Regions from separate parts of the Homo sapiens genome. Here region 2 is linked to region 1. The links are contacts of gene promoters, found by promoter capture Hi-C in blood cells and fetal thymus (Javierre and others, 2016). All regions are on one chromosome and are shown on one strand. The core of a region is centred on a gene start or on the middle of the fragment in contact, and the rest is flanking DNA. Distances in the headings are between cores, read along the strand shown. Region 1 holds the start of POC1A (POC1 centriolar protein A). Region 2 overlaps ALAS1 (5'-aminolevulinate synthase 1).

What was found. Contacts are between HindIII fragments. The CHiCAGO score rates a contact against its expected background, and 5 or more counts as called.
Region 2: a contact is called between a fragment that was not itself captured here and the fragment with the promoter of POC1A in region 1, in 1 of 17 cell types (M2 macrophages). The highest score is 5.2, in M2 macrophages.

What each region holds. Positions count from the first base shown.
Region 1 is chr3:52,151,428-52,158,141 of GRCh38, forward strand. It overlaps POC1A (POC1 centriolar protein A), which reads right to left and starts at 2,996. Exons shown (of 11, transcript NM_015426.5): 1 at 2,928-2,996. The coding sequence starts at 2,945. RefSeq lists enhancers at 2,389-3,366, 3,367-4,343. The HindIII fragment of the contact is 9,340 bases long and covers 2,110-6,714 here.
Region 2 is chr3:52,204,563-52,211,276 of GRCh38, forward strand. It overlaps ALAS1 (5'-aminolevulinate synthase 1), which reads left to right. Exons shown (of 12, transcript NM_000688.6): 6 at 131-353; 7 at 1,277-1,461; 8 at 2,010-2,189; 9 at 3,521-3,685. Among named protein-coding and RNA genes, the nearest start is that of ALAS1, 9.8 kb to the left of the region's middle. RefSeq lists an enhancer at 6,171-6,465. The HindIII fragment of the contact is 7,002 bases long and covers 569-6,714 here.

The sequences.
Region 1 (6,714 bases), core at 1,746-4,245:
TTATGATACATAAAAAAAATAGCAATATTTTAAATTAGCCGGGCATGGTGGCAGGCGCCTATAATCCCAGTTACTCAGGAGGCTGACGCAGGAGAATGGTGTGAACCCAGGAGGCGGAGCTTGCAGTGAGCAGAGATTGTGCCACTGCACTCCAGCCTGGGTGACAGAGCGAGACTCCGTCTCAAAAAAAAAAAAAAAAAAAGGAATAATTTAACAAAAGAAGTGCAGGACTTGTACAGTAAAGACGACAAAACATCACTAAGAGAAATGAAAGAAGACTTAAAAAATGGAAAGACATTCCACATTCATGAACAGGAAGACTTACTATTGTTAAGATACAATACTACGATACTCCTCAGATTGATCTACCGATTCCACATAATTCCTATCAAAATCCCAGGTGTCTTTTTTGCAGAAACTGACAAGCTGCTCCCAAGATTCACATGAAAATGCAAGACACCCAGAAAAAAAAAAAAATCTTTAAAAACAAACAAACAAACGAACAAACAAAAAACACAGATACTATAGAAAGTAATTTGGCAGTTCCTCAAAAAGTTAAACATAGGTCAGGTGAAGTGGCTCACACCTGTAATCCCCACATTTTGGGAGGCTGAGGCAGGAGGATCACTTTAAGCCAGGGGTTCAAGACCAACCTGGGCAACACAGCAAGACCCTGACCCTACAAAAAAATTAAAGAATTAGCCACACGTAGTGGCTCATGCCTGTATTCTCAGCTACTCAGGAGGGTGAGGTGGGAGGACTGCTTGAGCACAGGAGTTCAAGGTTGCAGTGAGCTGTGATCACATCACTGCACTCCAGCCTGGGCAACAGAGCAAGACCCTGACTAAAAAAAAGTAGTTAGCCGGGCACAGTGGCTCACGCCTGTAATCCCAGCACTTTAGGAGGCCAAGGCGGGCAGATTACCTGAGGTCAAGAGTTCAAGATCAGCCTGGCCAACATGGTGAAAACCCCTCTCTACTAAAAATACAAAAATTAGCTAGGCGTGGTGGTGGGCGCCTATAGTCCCAGCTATTTGGGAGGCTAAGGCAGGAGAATCGCTTGAACCCAGGAGGAGGAGGTTGTAGTGAGCCGAGATTGCACCAGTGCACTCCAGCCTGGACGACAGAGTGAGACTCCTAATCAAAAAATAAATAAATAAAATAAATATAAATAAATAAAATAAAAAATAAAGTAGTTAAACGTGGTTAGCAAATGACCCAGCAATTCTAGGTAAATACCCCAAAGAGTTGAAAACATGGTTTACACAAAAACTTGTACACAAATGTTCAGAGCAGCATTTTCCTTAATAGCCAACAAGTGATTGAACCCAAATGATCCATCAACACATGACTGAATAAACCAAATGTAGCATATTCATACAACAGAATATTATTCAGCCATAAAACCGACTGAAGTGCTGATGCTTGCTGCAACATGGATGAACCTTGAAAACATGCTAAGTGAAAGAAGTCAAACACCAAAGGCCACATTTTGTCTGATTCCATTCATATGAAAAGTTCAGAATAGTCAAATCTATAGAGACAGAAAGTATTAATATATTAGTTTGCCAAGGGTTGGGAGAAAATGGGGAAAGAGAAGAAATGGTATGACTGTTATTGAGTATGGAGTTTCTTTTTGGGATGATGAAAATATTCTGGAATTAGTGATTACAGTTGCACAACACTGTGAATGTACTAAAAACTACTGAAATGTACACTTTAAAAGGTGAATTCTGTGGTGTATGAATAACTTAATAAAGTTAAAACACCAGAGAGAATACTCCGGAGACTCTCTCCATCCAATAGCAGCTTGTGTCTTAACACTTGAAGGGTTATAATTCAGCCATCCAAACATCTCCCCCTACTCTAAGTATCAGAAACCTCAAAGAAGCATTTTGGGTGCTCCAGGAAGCCCAAAGGCTCCTCCTGGGAAAGGATGTCCTTGGGGCACAGCAAAGCCACTGCCACCCTACAGAGCAGTAACCAGAACAAAGGCCCTATGGCCTTGTGCCCAGCTCCACCCCTAACGCACCTGTCAGAGTCTCCTTTCAACAACAGAGGGAGGAGCAGCTGGGGGAGGGTCCCCAACAGAGCCTTCTGCTCTCACCTAAGCTTCTTGAAAGAACATGCGTAAGAGAGTGTCCGCCCCTAGGCTCAGTGGGCAGAGGCAAGTTCAGGTCCACCCCTGACCAGTAGGTCCCATGGTATCTCTCAACACCGCCTCCCCTCTGTAGTTCCCTGCATGTGGGCCTCATCTCCCTCAACAGTGGTTTATACATGAGGGGACAGGAAGGGAGGTAGAGTACCAGATTAGGAGTCAAAAGGTCTGTATCCTAGCCTGGAATCTCCGTCCATGTCCTCAAGTGCCTCAGGGCATCACAGGCTACCACCCAGCCTCCCTGACTCTCCAATCAGCCAGAGGGCCTTGCCCGTTCAAAGGAATCTCTCGAAATGAGGACTTCTGGAGGAATGTGAACTCAGAGAGGGCGGCTCCGCCCCGCTCACACTGCAGGCCCGGGCATCCCAGCGTCCTGCTGTACCTACCTGCTGGAGCAGGGTGTACCCTCAACAAGACCCCACGCAGCCACCCACTGCTAAGGACGTGGAGAATGGCTAGAGAGGCCCGATACCGGCCCCAGGTCACACATGAGTCGGGACTTGGTCGTGTGTCCCTCGCTAGGATGCAAACTATGGAGGCAGAGGCCTGTTTGTTCGCTCCAGAAACCCAGCGCAGGGCCTGGCACGCAGGAGGCGCTCAGAAAGTGCCCGACCCAGCGCCCCCTGCGCAGACAGTAAACTGGACCTGAAGAGGACCACCCTGGAACCTGGCGCCCCGCCCGCCCCTCGCAGCCATCGCTCTGGCCATTAGGCGCCCAGTGTCCCAGCGGGGAGACTGAGGCCTGGGGAGTTGCTCTCGGCTGGGCTTACCGCGCAGGGCGCAGCCATGGCGGGGCTGGCGGCGCCGAAGGCAGCTGCGGTGGCCGTTGCGGCCCGTTCAGTTTCCGCGCCCCCAACGGCCACCAATAGCAACGCGGGCCGCGTCGGCACGCCCCGCCCACCGCAATTAAAGGAGAAGCGCCTCAGCTTTTTGCCCGACGACTGGAAGCAGAGCTGTATGACCGGCGGCCGGCGCCACGGTCTCCGTGCCCAGTTCCCCAAGCCCAGACAACCCACAGACAGCGCAGCCAAAAGCCTCTGTCCGCCGCCACTCGTTCCGCCTGAGAAATTAAAAGACCCAGGATGAAGGGTTCACCCCACCAGCCCGTCGTCCGGCTACTCTAACGGCGAGCGCAGCCTCCTGGGAAATGCAGTTCCAAGCCGCCCACGCCCCTATGTCTGGAGGAAGGTGGAGCTACACTTCCCAACATGAGATTGCACCATTGCATTCCAGCCTGGGCAACAAGAGGGCGGGCCGGGTTTTACCACCCGAAGCGACGGCCTTAAGGATCCCGGAAGCGGAGGACACGTGGGTTGCTGTAACCAGATTGCGTTAAAGCACCCGCGCGCGCCGGCGCAGCCAGATTTTCCCCGCAGGAACCTATTGAGAGCTGAGTATTCGCCCCTCGGGAACTCTCAGTGGTTCGCCGTCCGAACGTTCTTAAGACAAGTGTCGATTTAAAATAACATGAGTTACTCGGAATCACAATCATGGAGTGGAGAGATCAAGGTTCGATTCTCAGTTCTCGCCCTGATTGGCTGTGTGATCTCAGGAAAAACGCCTCTGCTCTGTGCCCCGGTTTCCCCATTTGTAACACGAGGGAGTGTGGTGCAGCCCGGCCCTGTCAGGATCCTTAAGGCCTCAGAAGCTGTTAGAAACCCAGTCTTTAAAAGAAGGAGAGGCCGGGCTCAGTGGCTCACGCCTGTAATCTCAGCACTTTGCCACTTTGGGAGGCCGAGGTGGGTGGATCACCTGAGGTCAGGAGTATGAGACCAGCCTGGCCAACATGGTGAAACCCCATGTCTACTAAAAATACAAAAATTAGCCGGGCGTGGTGGCACGCGCCTGTAAACCCAGCTACTCGGGAGGCTGAGGGAGGAGAATTGTTCGAACTCCGGAGGCAGAGATTGCAGTGAGCCTAGATGTTGCCGCTGCACTCCAGCCTGGGCAACAGAGGGAGACTCCGTCTCAAAAAATATATATATATATAAAATAAAATTTGAAGGCCACCAGCAACCATCTGAATAGACTCCCTGCTTGGCCAGGGCACTCAAATTTAACCTGAAAGAGTGGTTCAGGCCATGATGGGAAGTGGGGGTTGGACATGCCTCATTATACCCTCCAGCATTAACATCAACAAAAACCTTAAGTCTGATAAGAAACATTTACGATCTATTTTCTCTGAAACCTGCTACCTGGAGGCTTCATCTGCATGGTAAAACCTTGGTCTCCATAACCCCTTATCTTAACCGAGATATCCCTTTCTACTGATAATAATTATTTCAACCAATTGCCAATCAGAATATGTTTAAATCTACCAATGACCTGGAAGTTTCCCACTTCGAGTTGTCTTGTCCTTCCAGATCAAACCAATGTAAATCTTACATGTATTGATTGATGTATTTTGTCTCCCTAAAATGTATAAAACCATGCTGTGCCCAGGCCACTTGGGCACATGTTGTCAGGACCTCCTGAGGCTGTGTCATGGGTGTGTCCTTAACCTTAGCAAAATAAATTTTCTAAGTTGACTGAGACCTGTCTCAGGTATTTCGGGTTGACAGTTTGGCAACCACGAAAGGATTCTGAGTGGAGGTGCCCCTGACCTTTGACAGATCTCCTATCGGTGCTTGGTACCAGCTTGAGCTATCTTTATGGCTCAAATCTACAGGACAATTTGCTAAGGCCTGGGAGCCCCCCTCCACAAAATTCCTGATCTTCCCAAATTTGGTTAACATCTAAAGTTTATTTTACTGTACAACTCCTTTTTCTGGAGTTTTACTTGTTTCCAACAAGGAAGGCAGGTTTTCCTGCTTCCCTGACGATGGAAGGCAGGTAACTCCTTTCTGGAGTTTGAGCTCGCTTCCAACAGAGAAGGAAAGTTTGAGTTTTCCCTACTTCTGGGATGGTAGAGAGCAGTCTTTAGCCTAAGACCTGTTCTTAGGTAAGTAGCCGAATTGGGGATTTTCTTGGCTGAAGTTAAGGTTAACAACCAGCTGGTCTTAATTTTCCTTACCATTAGAGTGCTCAGTAATCATATAAATTGTACGATCAAGCCCGGCATGGTGGCTCACGCCTGTAATCCCAGCACTTTGGGAAGCCAAGGCGGGTGGATCACGAGGTCAGGACATCGCAGACCATCCTGGCTAACACGGTGAAACCCCGTCTCTACTAAAAATACAAAAAATTACAGGGCGTGGTGGCTGGCGCCTGTAGTCCCAGCTACTCGGGAGGCTGAGGCAGGAGAATGGCATGAACCCGGGAGGCGGAGCTTGCAGTGAGCCTAGATCAAGCCCCTGCACTCCAGCCTGGGCGACAGGGCGAGACTCCGTCTCAAAAAAAAATAAAATAAATAAAATAAATAAACAAATTGTGCGATCACTTTTTTTTTTTTTGCTTAACTGTTTTTTGTTGTTGTTTGTTTCTGTTTTTGTTGTTTCATTCTTTTTCCCATTGAGGTTGATGAATTATATCTGACTTGATCAAATCTGAAGGAAAGTTCCAAAGTTTGGGGAACAAGGCCTCTGAATTGGCTAAATTCCCACAACAGAAAAAGAAAAAAGCCTGGGCAAGGTGGCTCACGCCTGTAATTCCAACACTTTGGGAGGCCGAGTTGGGTGGATCACCTGAGGTCAGAAGTTCGAGACCAGCCTGGCCAACATGGTGAAACCCCATCTCTACTAAAAATACAAAATTAGCTGGGCATGGTGGTGGGCATCTGTAATCCCAGCTACTCAGGAGGCTGAGGCAGGAGAATCACTCAGAACCCGGGAGGCAGAGGTTGCAGTGAGCCGAGATCGCACTCCAGCCTGGGCGACGCAGCGAGATTCCGTCTCAAAAAAAAAAAAGAGAGAGAAAAACAGCCAGCAAAAAGAAAAAAATAAGGAGAGATTTTTTATTTTGATTACCTAAGGGGCTTTATTTACATAACAAGGCCACCTTTTTGCTAACCAAGCCAAACTGAAAGAGGAATGCTGTTGCCCCAAACTGCAGTTCCATAGCTAAGGTTCTGCCCACTTTTTTTCACCAGGACAGCCTGGGTTTGGTTCCTAAATCAAGCCCTTTTTGGTTTGATATTTGTGTTACTTTTGAAATATCAGTTATTTGTTCTAGCTAAAATATGGTAATGATATTTAAAAGGTTTTTTTTAAAGGCGCTTAATGGCTTAAAGTCAGCTTACTTAAAAGCTAACATCCAAGATGGTGGGGGTGTGTGTGTGTGTGTATTTAAAAGGCTTTCATGGTTTTTTCCTCTCCTAGTACTTTGGTTTCTTTCAGAAAAAAAATTATTTCTTCTCTATCAACTGAATTATTTTTTATTTTTATTATTTTTGTGTGTGTGTGAGATGGAGTCTCACCCCTGTTGCACAGGCTGGAGTGCAATGGAGCGATCTCGGCTCACTGCAGCCTCCACCTCCTGGGTTCAAGCGATTCTCCTTCCTCAGCCTCCCAAGTAGCTGAGATTACAGGTGTGCACCACCATGTCCAGCTAATTTTTGTATTTTTAGTAGAGACGAGTTTTTGCCATGTTGGCCAGGCTGGTCTTGAACTCCTGACCTCA
Region 2 (6,714 bases), core at 2,820-5,319, 54 kb after region 1:
ACAAGATGAGGACATCAAATAACCTGCCCAGGATCTCCCTCAGTTGCCAAGCTGAGACTTGTTGTATTTCACCAAAATGCAGCTGTGTTTCACAACCACCATTCTGTACTGTCTTTTGTTCAATTTTTAGCTGTTTCCACTTTTCAGTATGATCGTTTCTTTGAGAAAAAAATTGATGAGAAAAAGAATGACCACACCTATCGAGTTTTTAAAACTGTGAACCGGCGAGCACACATCTTCCCCATGGCAGATGACTATTCAGACTCCCTCATCACCAAAAAGCAAGTGTCAGTCTGGTGCAGTAATGACTACCTAGGAATGAGTCGCCACCCACGGGTGTGTGGGGCAGTTATGTAAGTAGCCCTTGGCTTTCAAATATTACTGTTGTTATTTGGCAAGCCAATGATGATGTATAGGGGTTGGATCTTTTATGGAGGGAACATTCAGTAGCTGAAAGTGTGCCATAGCAAAATACTATTCTTAGCTTCTGAAAAATATCTACAGATTACTTTTAAAGGAACTCTAATATGCAGGTAGCTGCTGGAGCCCCTTAACTTGTGAGGGTTCAAGCTTATAGGCTCAATGACCACACACGTCAGTCCACTTTCTATCACTCTGCAAGTGAGTGTGCCTTTAACACCAGGCAGTCTTTCACAGAGACATCCTTGGTTGTGGCTGTGAGTGGAGAAATACGAATCTAGCAGCGCTAGAGAAAAAGCTACTCCAAAAGACATGTTAAAAAGGATGGTAGATCCCATCACTCGTCCTTCAGGAGGCTCACCATCCTAGGGATGCTGGAGAGAGTTGCTGGCCAGATTCTCCAAAGGCTTGCTAAAGAGGGTCCCGGTTTGAGGTTTAATGATAGTGATATATCCAAACATTACATGACTGGCTTGCAGAGGGTAACCACCATCCAGGATGTCCCTCTAGAGTTTGCTTTTTCTTAAGCTAACATGTTATTGGAAAGAATAATGTTTCTCAGAAAATAAACCTTAGTTTCTTAGAAAAGAAACTCAGCTAATACCAAGCACTTACTGACTGTTAAATGAACACTTGTTCTTGATGATTCCTGGAGGTATCATCACCCTAGCATTGACACCTTCTCCCACCTAGTCTGAAGATGAAATCAGTTGAAATTTCTGACCCCAGGTTTCACAGTGAGAGAGTTGCTACATCAACATGTTTCAGTCTCCTGGATCCTAGAAAGGGGAAAAAATTCACATGGTGTTGAGAACCATGAGCTTTATTTTCTGGTTTTGTTTGTATTTTTAAACAGGGACACTTTGAAACAACATGGTGCTGGGGCAGGTGGTACTAGAAATATTTCTGGAACTAGTAAATTCCATGTGGACTTAGAGCGGGAGCTGGCAGACCTCCATGGGAAAGATGCCGCACTCTTGTTTTCCTCGTGCTTTGTGGCCAATGACTCAACCCTCTTCACCCTGGCTAAGATGATGCCAGGTAAGGAAGCCTGGCATGAGTGCCTTCGAGTTTTTTGGGTTTCTTAGTAATAACAAGAATATTGGCAACAAAGAAGCCTTACCAGAACCTCTCAATTGAAAATCATAATCCTATCTGGGCATTTGTTCTGGGGTCAAGCATGAAATGCTGACTGTACATTATGGGTTCCAGGAGAACGTGATACCAGTGAAAATTCAAACTTGAAACGTCTCATCCTTGAGCTAATTGCCTCAAATATGTTTTGTATTCTAAGATGATCCTTTGGAGAAGTCTCTTAATCATTTAGTTAGCTCTTGATTGAGTTTGGAGTGAGGCAGTCAGATTTAAGAGCAGATTAATGGCCTGCCACAAGGTTATTCTACACCTTTGGGCCTTCTCACAAGGGAAGCACTAACTAGTTATTTTGCCAGGAAGAAACTGGCACACAGTGTCTTTTTCCTACTAGGCATTTTCAAAGCATCATTTCCAAGGAAAAGTCTGTTGTCTTTCTCTAGGAAATAATTTGTCTTCGATGCACATGGCAATAAATAGCATTTTTGTTGTCTTAGGCTGTGAGATTTACTCTGATTCTGGGAACCATGCCTCCATGATCCAAGGGATTCGAAACAGCCGAGTGCCAAAGTACATCTTCCGCCACAATGATGTCAGCCACCTCAGAGAACTGCTGCAAAGATCTGACCCCTCAGTCCCCAAGATTGTGGCATTTGAAACTGTCCATTCAATGGATGGTAAGTGTGGATAGAGGTTCCTCTGAAACCTAAGATGAAAAACTATGCCTGAACTCTTTAAAAGTATGGTGTTTTGTTGTGTTTTTTAATTTTTTTTTTTTGTGACCGATCCTCGCTCTGTTGCCCAGGCAGGAGTGCAGTGGTGCGATCTCGACTCACTGCAAGCTCCGCCTCCCGGGTTCACGTCATTCTCCTGCCTCAGCCTCCCGAGTAGCTGGGACTACAGACACCTGCCACCACGCCTGGCTAATTTTTTTTTTTTTTTTTTTTGAGACGGAGTCTCCCTCTGTCACCCAGGCTGGAGTGCAGTGGCGTGATCTCGGCTCACTGCAAGCTCCACTTCCTGGGTTCACGCCATTCTCCTGCCTCAGCCTCCTGAGTAGCTGGGACTACAGGCGCCTGCCACCACGCCCAGCTAATTTTTTGTATTTTTAGTAGAGACAGGGTTTCACCATGTTAGCTAGGATGGTCTCGATCTACTGACCTTGTGATCTGCCCGCCTCAGCCTCCCAAAGAGCTGGAATTACAGGTGTGAGCCACCGCACCTGGCCTAACTTTTTGTATTTTTAGTAGACGGGGTTTCACTGTGTTAGTCAGGATGGTCTCAATCTCCTGACCTTGTGATCCGCCCACCTTGGCGTCCCAAAGTGCTGGGATTACAGGCGTGAGCCACCGCGCCTGGCCTGTTGTGTTTTTTAATTTTCTTTTCCTTTCTGCCAGGATTTTTTTTTTTCTTCTTCCAACTTTTAGGTTCAGTGGGTACATGTGCGGGTTTATTATATGGGTAAATTATGTGTCACAGGGTGTTGGTGTACCAATTATTTCATCACCTAGGTAGTAAGCATAGTACCCAATGGTAGTTTTTGATCTCACCCTCCTCCCACCCTCCACCCTCAAGTCGGTCCCTGGTGTCTGTTGTTCCCTTCTTTGTGTCCATGTGTTCTCAGTGTTTAGCTCCCACTTATAAGTGAGAGCGATATTTGGTTTTTCCGTTCCTGTATTAATTCACTTAGGATGGCCTCTAGCTCCATCCGTATTGCTGTAAAGGACATGGTCTCATTCTTTTTTTATTGCTGTGTAGTATTGCATTCTGCCAAGATTTGTAATTGGTGGACTTTTTTCTAATAGATTTGGGTGAAAGTGGATTTTCTATTCTGGCTTTTACTAGGCTCTGGGACCCCAGGTAACCTAGAAATTAGAGGAAGTTCATTTTCTTTCCAATATTGAAAATGATACCTTAGAATAGAAGTTTACGTTGTTCTGACTCTAACCAAAACAGAAATTTCTGAAGCGGCAAAAGCTCTTCAGAGCAGTCTCTGGTCTTTCCTCAGGGGCGGTGTGCCCACTGGAAGAGCTGTGTGATGTGGCCCATGAGTTTGGAGCAATCACCTTCGTGGATGAGGTCCACGCAGTGGGGCTTTATGGGGCTCGAGGCGGAGGGATTGGGGATCGGGATGGAGTCATGCCAAAAATGGACATCATTTCTGGAACACTTGGTATGTATACATTGTATTACATACACTAAAATTCCATTATCCTAACAAGGCCAAGGACTAACTAGTCTAACTGGGATCAGGTGAGGAGACAGCCTGACAGCATATGAAGCCTGGGCCACTCTTTCTTTTGGCCCAGCTTAGTGGAATCCCTTGGGTCATGGAGGCATGGCTCTTAGAATCAAAGTAAATCCCACAGCCTAACACACTGATAGACCATTTATTGCTATCTGAGCTCATTTCAGACATAGTTGTGGGTCTAGCCCCATGCCATGGCAAGAGCCTGTACTCTCTGTGCCTCAGGCTGTTCTTAATTAAAAAGAAAAAGGAATTCTAGTACTTTTCTCCTGGAGCACTTGTTAGGTTCAGGTGTTGTGAAGTGCTGAACTCCGTGCCTGCCACGTGGGAACATTCTAATTCATCCTGGTTTTCCTCTGCTCTTCCTCATACAGAGGCTATGTCTCGTGGTAGATGGGAGCTAGACTTTGGAGCCCTGCCACCTCACTAGTTGTGTGACCTTGAGTTGGTAGTTAACCTTTCTATACCTCAGTTTCATCATCAATATAATGGAGAAAACAATAGGACCTAAATCAAAATATATGTGGAGAAGGTAAATAAGTTGTATGCAAACAGTTATTATAAACATTCCCTCTGAGAACCTATGAGAACCCTAAAGAGACGAAAATTACATAAATTTGAAGAATTTTTGTAATTTTGAAGAATTTTTTTAAGCCTTCAGAAGTGGGTAAGGCAGTTGGAAACCCATCTAGCAGTTAGCTAAAATGCCAGTTTATAGCCTATGCTTGGTAAAGGAAGGGCAGGCTTTTTAAAAAGCGTCCTTCAGCACTGTCAAGGGGTATGAGAACCTAGTGCAGACCCAGAAAGCCTGGGAGTTCTAAGGGTGGAACCACTACCAGGAGAAAAACACCTGATCATGTGTCTTAATTCAAGAAGCTCTTTTCTTTTTTTTCTTTTTTTTCCGAGATGGAGTGTCACTCTGTTGCCCAGGCTGGAGTGCAGTGGCGCGATCTCAGCTCACTGCAAGCTCCACCTCCCAGGTTCATGCCATTCTACTGCCTCAGCCTCCCAAGTAGCTGGGACTACAGGCACCCGCCACCATGCCTGGCTAATTTTTTGTATTTGTAGTAGAGACGGGGTTTCACCGTGTTAGCCAGAATGTTCTCAATCTCCTGACCACGTGATCTGCCCGCCTCAGCCTCCCAAAGTGCTGGGATTACAGGCGTGAGCCACCACACCCGGCCAGAAGCTCTTTTCTTTTAAGGATGTCTCCTGATGTGGGCTCTTTGAAGGTATGGTCATTGTGAGATGGAAAAGGCTGGAGAGAGAAACTTTATACCATAGGAGATTGAACCAACCCAGCTTTGCATGTGGTTTTAGCAAAAACATTAATTATAGAATGTTATGTTAAGATCTATGAAGACTCTTCTGGAGTTCTTTTTGTTTTTTGAGACAGGCTCTCACTCTGTGCCCAGGTGTGATCACAGCTCATCTGCAGCCTCCACCTCCTGGGCTCAAGTGATCCTCCCACCTCAACCTCCTGAATAACTGAGACTACAGGTGTGCGCTAGCATGCCTGGCTAATTTTTGTATTTTTAGTAGAAACGGGGTTTCACCATGTTGGCCAGGCTGGTCTCTAACTCCTGAGCTCAAGTGATTTGCCCCCCTCGGCCTCCCAAAGTTCTGGGACTATAGGTGTGAGCCACTGCACCTGGCCTCTTCTGGAGTTTTTAATCCTGAAACTTGAGATGTAGATCACACAAAAGGACTCAATGAGAATTGAAAACCAAGTCTGGCCCTAAATCAATCCTAATGCATTAATTGTCAAGAGTTTTGTTCTTAAGTAGGAAATAACACCAGTCATACCAAAACAGTTAATGCCTTAGCTGGGTAAAATTCCAGCCTCTGGGATAATGTTCCCTGTGGGAGGATGGTACAAGCACTGCAGAGCCAGTCTTGTTCCAAAGAGCACATGCAGTGCAGACATGGGGAGTGGAGCTGTGCTGGCTGTCAGAGCAGCAAGCCTGGGTGAGAAAGGGAAAGGAGAATAAGATGGTGGGAAGGGAGGCAGCAGCAGGGTATTTGGGCACACTGGGACCAGTCACTGAGGTGTCAGGTCTGATTGGAAGACCTGCATTTTGATCCTGGTTAGACACCAGCTTGGCCATATGACTTTGGGCAAGACCCTTTTGTAACTTTCCTTAGCTTTTTTACCCTTTTAAAAGTGAGTAGCCAGGCACGATAGCTCACACCTGAATCCCAGCACTTTGGGAGGCTGAGACAGGAGGATCACTTGAACCCAGGAGTTTGAGACCAGCCCTGGGCAACGAAGCATGGCCTCCTCTCTACACAAAATAAAAATTTAAAAAATCAGCCAGGCATGGTGGTGTACACCTGTCCTAGCTACTTGGGAGGCTGAGGCGGAAGGAATACTTGAGCCCAGGAGGTTGAGGCTGCAGAGAGCTATGATCATGCCACTGCACTCCAGCCTGGGTGACAGAGCAAGACCCTGTCTCTAAAAAAAAAAGGAAGATTAGATATCCTTTTATAGTCATGCATTGCTTAACGATGGGGGATGTGTTCTGAGAATTGCATCACTAGGCGATTTCATCATTGTGCAAACACCATAGAGTGTACTTACATAAACCTAGATTATATAGCCTACCGCACACCTAGGCTTTGTGGTATGGCGTGTTGCTCCTAGGCTGCAAACCTGTACAACATGTTACTGTATTGGATACTGTTGGCAACACCATGGTATTTGTGTATCTAAACATACCTAAACATAGAAAAGGTACAGTAAAAATACAGTATTATAATCTTATGGGACCACCATCATATATGTGGTCGTCATTGACTGAGACATCATTAATGTGGTGCATGACTACTCCAATCAGTCCAGGAACAAATTAAAAAGATAAGGAGAAAAGTCAGTGCTTTGAGGCTCCACAACACCTTGCTGTGTCCATTTAGAGCAATTTACAGCTGTTGCTGTAATTAATGAAGCTATCTCC